Linked DNA regions of Homo sapiens: region 2 is linked to region 1. Evidence: promoter capture Hi-C in human tissues and cell types (Jung and others, 2019). All regions are on one chromosome and are shown on one strand. The core of a region is centred on a gene start or on the middle of the fragment in contact, and the rest is flanking DNA. Distances in the headings are between cores, read along the strand shown.

Region 1 (3,948 bases), core at 799-3,298:
GCCTAGAGAAGATGAGAGGAGATGCGCAGTGTCAGGTGACTACTCTTTGCTTTTCTGTCCTGTGAAATATGCACAAACAGACTAATATATTAAAAAGAGCCACCCACGGCTCTGTTAAACAAAAATAAACAAAATGCCACATCCGTTTTAAAATTAAATAAAGAACTGATAGTTCATAATGTGATTTGGAGAGGGATAGTTGGCATTTGGGAATGTGGGAAAGAAATTGGAAATTTAGAATTTTATACAGTCCCTAGAACAGTTAGGCTGGGAGAACAGTTTTAGATTTGAGACCCTGCTTGCCAAACATTTGAAAAATGCAGAGAAAACCAACGACCCTGTGGAGCATTAAAATAATTAAATAGCTAGCAATTAGGCTGAAGTGGCCATGGTGCCCTGGGATTCTGCCTAAGGAAACCTAACTACGTCGAAGGAATTTCTGGTAAATTATTAACTTTGAGAAACAACAACAACAACAACAAAACAACTTAGGCTTAACCAACCACAAGCTGCCAATAAAAAGCTCTAATTACATAACCAGGACATTTCCACCGGAGGGCTGCAAATGCAATACGTAACTGTAACCAATCAAATATTGAATCTGGTTTGCTTCCTCATACCTCTTAAAAAAAAAAAACAACCTTTTGTTCCAAGACCCTCCTTTGAGCCCCCAAACAACAAATCATAGCTGGGTGTTCTCTGATTGATAAATTACTGTTTGTGCAAGTAAACTATTTGTATTAATCGCTTCTGGCATTACTATAAATACCTCAGACTGGGTAATTTATAAGAGGATTAATTGGCTCATGGTTCCACAGGCTGCATAGAAAGCATAACACCAGCGTCTGCTTCTGGGGAGGCCCCACCCAGAAAGCTTAAAATCATGGATGAAGGTGAAGCAAGAGCTTGAAAAAGAGGCAAGGTGGGGTGCTGTACACTTCTAAATGATGAACTTCAGGGAACTCACTCACTATTGAGAGGACAATACCAAGAGGAATGGTGCTAAACTATTCGTGAGAAATCCGGGCCCACAATCCTTCCACCAGGCCCCACCTCCAACATGGGGGATTACATTTAAATAGGAGATTTGGGCTGGAAAACACATCCAAATTATATCCTAAAGTTGCCTCAATTTAGGCTAGGGTGGTGGGTCATGCACGTAATCCCGGCACTTTAGGAGGCCCGAGGCGGGCGGATCACCTGAGACCTGAGCTCGGGGAGTTCGAGACCAGCCTGAGCAACATGGCAAAAGCCTGTCTCTACAAAAACAAACAAAACAAAATAGGCGTGGTGGCGCACCCCTCTAGTCCTAGCTACTTGGGGGGCTGGGGTGAGAGGATCATCTGAGCCCAGTAGGTGGAGGCTGCAGTGAACCGAAATGCACTTTAGCCTGGGCAACAGAGTGAGACACTGTCTCAAAAATAAATAAATTTAAAAAAGGGCCATGATTTTATTTTTAAAAGGAGAAAGGAGGGACTAGGGACCCCACGGCCCACTGCTTCTTCCACGGAGGAACTCCAGACCCTAAATGAGAATTCCCGTCTTATGACACTCCCAACACCCCCACACAATCTGGAGGAGGGAGACTCGAGGTTGCGGCACAGAGCTGCCCAGGAAGGGATCTGAGCTGGGGAGAAATTCGAGTTTAGGGACAAAACAAGACGTAGCGTTTTGGCTGCTGGCTCAGCCCCTAATCTGCGATGGAGGGAAATGAGGATTGAGCTGTGCCCGCGGGGACTCGGGGATGCAGACTCCAGAGCAGACCGCGAGAAGGCCCAGATACCACCGCAGCCGGTTCCGGCCGGATTCAAACAGCCTCTTCCCCATTCTCGGGACACCCACTCCACGCACTCACCATTTCCCAGCCTCCAGATGTTCCGCCGTCCTCCCTATGGATCTCCCAGTACCTGCAGGTCACAGGATAACAGAAGCTATAGTAGAGTCACCGAGGAACTCCAGGAACGGAGGAGATGGAACAGTGGAGACGCGAACTAGGATCAGAGCCCGGAAGCTAGGAGACAAAGGCCCCGCCATATTGAAGAGGCCGCCTCTTCCTCTGTAGCTGCGCACTTGATTGGACAGTTTCACGCTGGCGCCACTGATTGGCTAGGGCTCCAGGCCCCACCCGTTTCAATCCTAAGTGACAGAAGATGTAATCAGACACTGGGCTGAATGAGGCAAGGGTGACAGGTTTTTGCCTGCAGCGTTTTCAGGCGAGTCCTCCCTGTGCTGGGGGCCTGGCCCTGCCTGAGAGACATTTGTATTTAACCTTGCATATAAGATTATATCACTTTCTGATTATATTTTCGTGTGTGTGTATATATTACATTCTGAATTATAGTTATGTGTATGCTGCAGGCCCTGTCTCAGCATCCTGTCTTTCCCTTTAGCTGCAGGAGATCAAAGTCCTCCAGGAGATGCAGCTGCTTCAGCTGGCTGTAGACAATTATCACCTTCAGTCTGTGAAGCAATTTTGGGTCTGCTTCCAATTAATGGAGTGTCTCAGTGAGACTGAGAGGTGAGGGCCTAGCAGATTGGTTAGAGGTGCCACTCGCCCAGGCCTCCCAAAACACCCTGTCTCTTTCCCACCAAAGCTGAGCCTGCCTGAGGACCTAAACAAGCATGGAGAACCAAGATGGGACCCTAGTCAGGGATAGTGCTGGGCTGTGGGGTAAAGTCAGCTAGGTCAGGGCCTCCAGGTGTGGGGAGGAGCCGGCCTCTTCTGTAGAGCCCTGGGCAAGTCACTGCCCTCTTTGGGCCTCTGTTTTCTTATCTAAAAAATGTAGGGATGATGAGCCTCACAGGGTAATGAGGAGCTTCAAAGGAGAAAAATTTGAGAGTGCTTGTGCCTGGCTCTTCCTGAGAGAGATGATGATGAGAACAATGGTGACGGCTACATATAACTGAGTCCTCACGAGGCCCAGTGAGGTAGGTGTGGTTCCCATCACACTTTCAAGTTGAGAAACAGTCTCAGGGAGGCCTGGCTGCATGCCCAAGGTTCCACACACAGTGAGTGTTGCAGCAGGGAGTGAATCTAGAATCAGAGTTTACTGGAGGTGGCAGGAGCACTGGACCAGCTTGACTCACACCAGTTATCCAGGGTACCAGGTCAATGTAACTGGGCATAACTGGGTGAAGGGAGCATAATATCACTGACCTTGTCCTTGACCCTGGCAGAGGAAGACACCCAAGTTGGCCACCCTAGAGAAGAAACCACAGAAAGCCCAGATGAGGCTAAAGCAGCAAAAAGGCAGGTACCTGTGATGGGGAAGAGCTCCAGGGATTCAGAGGGAAGAGCTCCTCCCTCCCAGCTGGAGGCCTCCACATCAAAAGAGCAAGGGGCCTTTCTCCCTCAGCCCTTCCCTCCTGTGGCAACAGTCCCTGAAATGCCTCTATAAGAGAAATCAGAGTAAAGGCCTGGAAGAGCTGGGCTGAGTGGATTTGGGAAACGGTGGAGCTAGGGACCACATAACATTGTGACTTGTTAAAATCTCACCACAGAGTTAATAAGGGAGTGCTTCATGTTTTTGGAGGCCAGCTAGGAAGAGGGGAGAGAGTTGGAGAGAGGCAGCTGCGTGTCTTTGGCTTTTTCAAGTAAAAGATGTGGATAGGAGAGTCCAGGAGATGGGGGCTTATGAGATTTCAGGGACAGGCCTTGAATGGACACCCAAAAGTGGATACTCATCCCCATCACCACCTGATAGCACAGGGTGTTGCTGACTTTCACCTCCCCACTCTCTCCCAATGTTGCCCCAGCTGCTCACCTTCCTTTTCTTTCTGGGTGTTACATTTCCCTAGAAGTCAGCCAATGGTCATCAGAAAGGCCCCTTGGACCCTGACTAGGTCCCCTCCCCACACTCTTCATACTGCATTACTGCCAGGGCCACCAGGGGCAGGGGATGTGCACAAAGCAGGACTTGGGTCTGCAGCAGGTTCTGGGGTTCAAAG
Region 2 (3,948 bases), core at 461-2,960, 400 kb before region 1:
AAAATTATATGCCTGTATCAAAATATGCCATACATGGCATAAAGATATACACATACTATGTATCCACAAAAATTAAGAGAAATAAGTTTAAATTTTAAAAAGAATAAAAATCTAACCTATGGGAACAATATTCTTTATTAGCAGTTTAAAGTCACTAGCAAAAATAATTATTAGAGATGTTAGCCCATTATGTTATCAAGTAGTATACTGTTACCCTCTTTTACCTAAACCCTTGAGTAATGTGGGATAGGTAAAGTCAGTGGCATGAAAACACTTCATTGAATGCACAATAGTTTTAACATGTTAAAAAAAGTTTAATTAAAAAACTAAGTTCACGCATAATCCAAAAATTTTTAAACACATTGCATTTTATTACATAAAAGTACAAATAGTAAAATGATATACTACTAATTCACTTTAATTTTAACTAAGATTAAAAATGGTTTTCTCTTACTATAATGCAGAAGAATATTGCTCTGAAAACCTACTTCATGGATCACTCAATATTATAAGTTAAACACAAACAGCCTCTTCACTCAGGTTTTCATCATGCATCTTACATTTTAATGTCCTTATTCTTTCATAGAAAGTGTCATAAATAATACCGACCTAACAGAAATGATTTCTCATATCTTTGATGCATGAAAAATTAATCACATGCTTTCACATGTGAATACAATAGGAATGAAGAGCATGAATTTGAGTTGAATTACATCATTTGCTTTTCAAAAACTAATTTTTCAAGAAAAAATATAATTTGAATGTAATTATACATCTACAAAAAAATTCTACTTCTTTTAAAGTTATATACACATTATTTACCTACCAACTTTAGTTTTAAATTATTTTCTATACTCAGCATTCTGATTCTATACTCAGCAATGTCTGAAGTGTCAGTACCTTAGATATTTCTACTGTGAATTCTCTGATATTTATATAGACTTAATTTTGGATTAAATTATTTTTATATTTACTTCACTTGCAAAAATATATTTTAGTATGAGGCCTCTGGTATTTTCTAAGCTGTAGTTTTTTAAAAAATGTTTTCACAAATGCATTACATTTACAGTGCTTTTCTCCAATATAAATTTTCTGGTGTTGAACAACATTTGAGCAACTGCTTCATGGTTTTCCTCTAGTGCAAAATGGGTACAAAAGTATCTGTGATACAAGTAAAGGTACTACAACCCTCTTCGTATTTGTATTGTTTGTCCTCACAATGAATACTCTTTTTTTGTTTTGTTTTTGAGACGAAGTTTTTGCTCTTGTTGCTTTGGCTGGAGTGTAGTGGTGTGATTTCAGCTCACTGCAATCTTCGCCTCCCAGGTTTGAGCAATTCTCCTGCTTCAGCCTCCCAATTAGCTGGGATTACAGGGGCCTGCCACCACACGCAGCTAATTTTTGTAAAATTTTTAATAGAGATGGGGTTTTGCTATGTTGGCCAGGCTGGTCTCAGACTCCTGCCCTCAGGTGATCCACCCACCTTGGCCTCCCAAAGTGCTGGCATTACAGATGTGAGCCAGCACAACTGGCTCCTCTTCTTCACTTTAAAGGCTTATATTTTCTGAAAGATCTCTTGACAAAAATTGCATTTATAATGCTTTTATTACGTACTAACTCTCTAATGTTGAGTAAAATCTGAGCAGATAATAATGGCTTTTCCACATTCCTTGTATTTGTACAATCTTTCTGAAGTATAAATGCTTTCCTGTGCAATAAGGGGTGAGCATTTATTAAAAGTGTTGCCACATTTTTTACACTTCCAGGAGTTTTCTTCAGTATGGATTCTTACCTACAATCAAGTGTGACAACCATTTAAAGGCTTTGTGATATTTTTCACATTTCTAGGATTTTTCACCAGTATGATTTATGTTAGAAAGTTCGAGGTGTTGTCAAAATTATTGTCACATCATTCAGGTTTGTAAAGTTTTCAGTATTATCTTATGTTTAGTGAGGTTTGAGGATTGGTTTAAAGTATTGCCACATTATTCACATTTGCAGGGTTTCTCTCAAAGTATAAACTGTCTTATATGTAGCAAGGTGTGAGGACCAGTTAAAGGCATTGCCACGTTTTTTACATTTGTAGGGTTTCTTTCCAGTATAAATACTCTTACATGTAGTAAGAGTTGAGAATCAGTTAAAAGCTTTGCCACAGACTTCACATTTGTAGGGTTTCTTTCCAGTATGAATTTTCTTATCTACAGTTAAGGGTTAAGGAAGGTTAAAAGCTTTGCCACATTCTTCACAATTGTAGGCTTTCTCTCCAGTATGAATTTCTGTATAGTAAGGTATGAGGATTGGTTAAAAGCTTTGCCACATTCTTCACAACTATAGAGTTCCTCTCCAGTATAAATTATCTTATGTGTAGAAAGGTGTGAGGACTGATTAAAGGCATTGCCACATTCTTCTCATTTGTATGGCTTTTCTCCAGTATGAATTACCTTATGTTTAGTAAAAGTTGAGGATCAGTTAAAGGATTTGCCACATTTTTCACATTTGTAGGATTCTCTCCAGTACGAATTTTCTCAACTTTCAGTAAGGTTTGAAGATTAGTTAAAAGCTGTGCCACATTCTTTACATTGTAAGGTTTCTCACCAGTATAAAATACCTCGTGTGTGCAGAAAAAGTTGAAGACTTGTTAAAGGCTTTAACACATTCTTCACATTTGTAGTTTCTCTCCAGTATGAATTTTCCTATGTGTAGTAAGCTTGTAGGATCAATTAAGTTTTGCCATACTCACATTTGTAGGGTTTCTCTCCAGTATGAATTTTCTTATGTGTAGTAAGATTTGAGGATAGGTTGAAAGCTCTGCCATAATCTCCACATTTGTAGGGTTTCTCTCCAGTATGAATTATCTTATGTATATTAAGAGATGAGAACTGGTTAAAGGATTTGCCACATTCTTCACATTTGTAGGGTTTCTCTGAAGTATGAATTTTCTTATGTGTAGTAAGGTTTGAGGATTGGTTAAAAGCTTTGCCACATTCTTCACATTTATAGGGTTTCTCTCCAGTATGAATTTTCTTATGTGCAGTAAGGGTTGAGGATAGGTTAAAAGCTTTGCCACATTCTTTACATTTGTAAGGTTTCTCTCCAGTATGAATTATCTTATGTCTATTAAGGGTTGAGGAGCAGTTAAAGGCTTTGCCACATTCTGCACATTGGTAAGGTTTCTCTCCCGTATGAATTCTCTTATGTATAGTTAGGTTTGAGAATCGGTTATAAGCTTTTCCACATTCTTCACATTTGTGGGGTTTCTCTCCAGTATAAATTATCTTATGGTTAGTAATGTTTGAGAATAGGTTAAAAGCTTTTCCATGTTCTTCAAATTTGTAGAGGTTCTCTCCAGTATGAATTATCTTTTGTGTAGTAAGGTTTGAGGACTGGTTAAAAACTTTGCCATGTTCTTCACATTTGTAGGGTTTCTCTCCAGTATGAATAATTTTATGTATAGTACGGTGTGAGGACTGTTTAAAGGCCTTGCCAAATTCTTCACATTTGTTGAGTTTCTCTTTAGTATGAACTATCTTATGTCTAGTAAGTTGATAGGATTGATTAAAGGCTTTTCCACATTCTTCACATTTATAGGGTTTTTCTCCAGTATGAATTCTCTTATGTTTAGTAAGGGTTGAGAATCGGTTAAAAGCTTTGCCACATTCCTCACATTTATAGGGTTTCTCTCCAGTATGAATTTTCTTATGTTCAGTAAGGTTTGAAGACTGGCTAAAAGCTCTGTCACATTCTTCACATTTGTAGGGTTTCTCTCCAGTATGAATTTTCTTATGTCTAGTAAGGGTTGAGGATCGATTAAAAGCTTTTCCACATTCTTCACATTTGTATGGTTTCTCTCCAGAATAAATTTTCCTATGGTTAATTAGGTTTGAGTGTTGGTTAAAAGCTTTGCCACATTCTTCACATTTATAGGATTTCTCTGCAGTATGAATTTTC

The links. Contacts are between HindIII fragments. The study calls those that stand out against the background at their distance.
Region 2: a contact is called between a fragment that was not itself captured here and the fragment with the promoter of ZNF736 in region 1, in 1 of the 25 tissues and cell types used here (bladder).

Annotation. Positions count from the first base shown.
Region 1 is chr7:64,312,061-64,316,008 of GRCh38, reverse strand. ZNF736 (zinc finger protein 736) reads right to left here and starts at 2,048. Exons shown (of 4, transcript NM_001170905.3): 1 at 1,856-2,048. The coding sequence starts at 1,858. RefSeq lists an enhancer at 1,816-1,995. The HindIII fragment of the contact is 17,485 bases long and covers 1-3,948 here.
Region 2 is chr7:64,707,429-64,711,376 of GRCh38, reverse strand. ZNF107 (zinc finger protein 107) reads right to left here. Exons shown (of 4, transcript NM_001282359.2): 4 at 1-3,948. The coding sequence ends at 2,721. Among named protein-coding and RNA genes, the nearest start is that of MIR6839, 30 kb to the right of the region's middle. The HindIII fragment of the contact is 5,049 bases long and covers 1-3,948 here.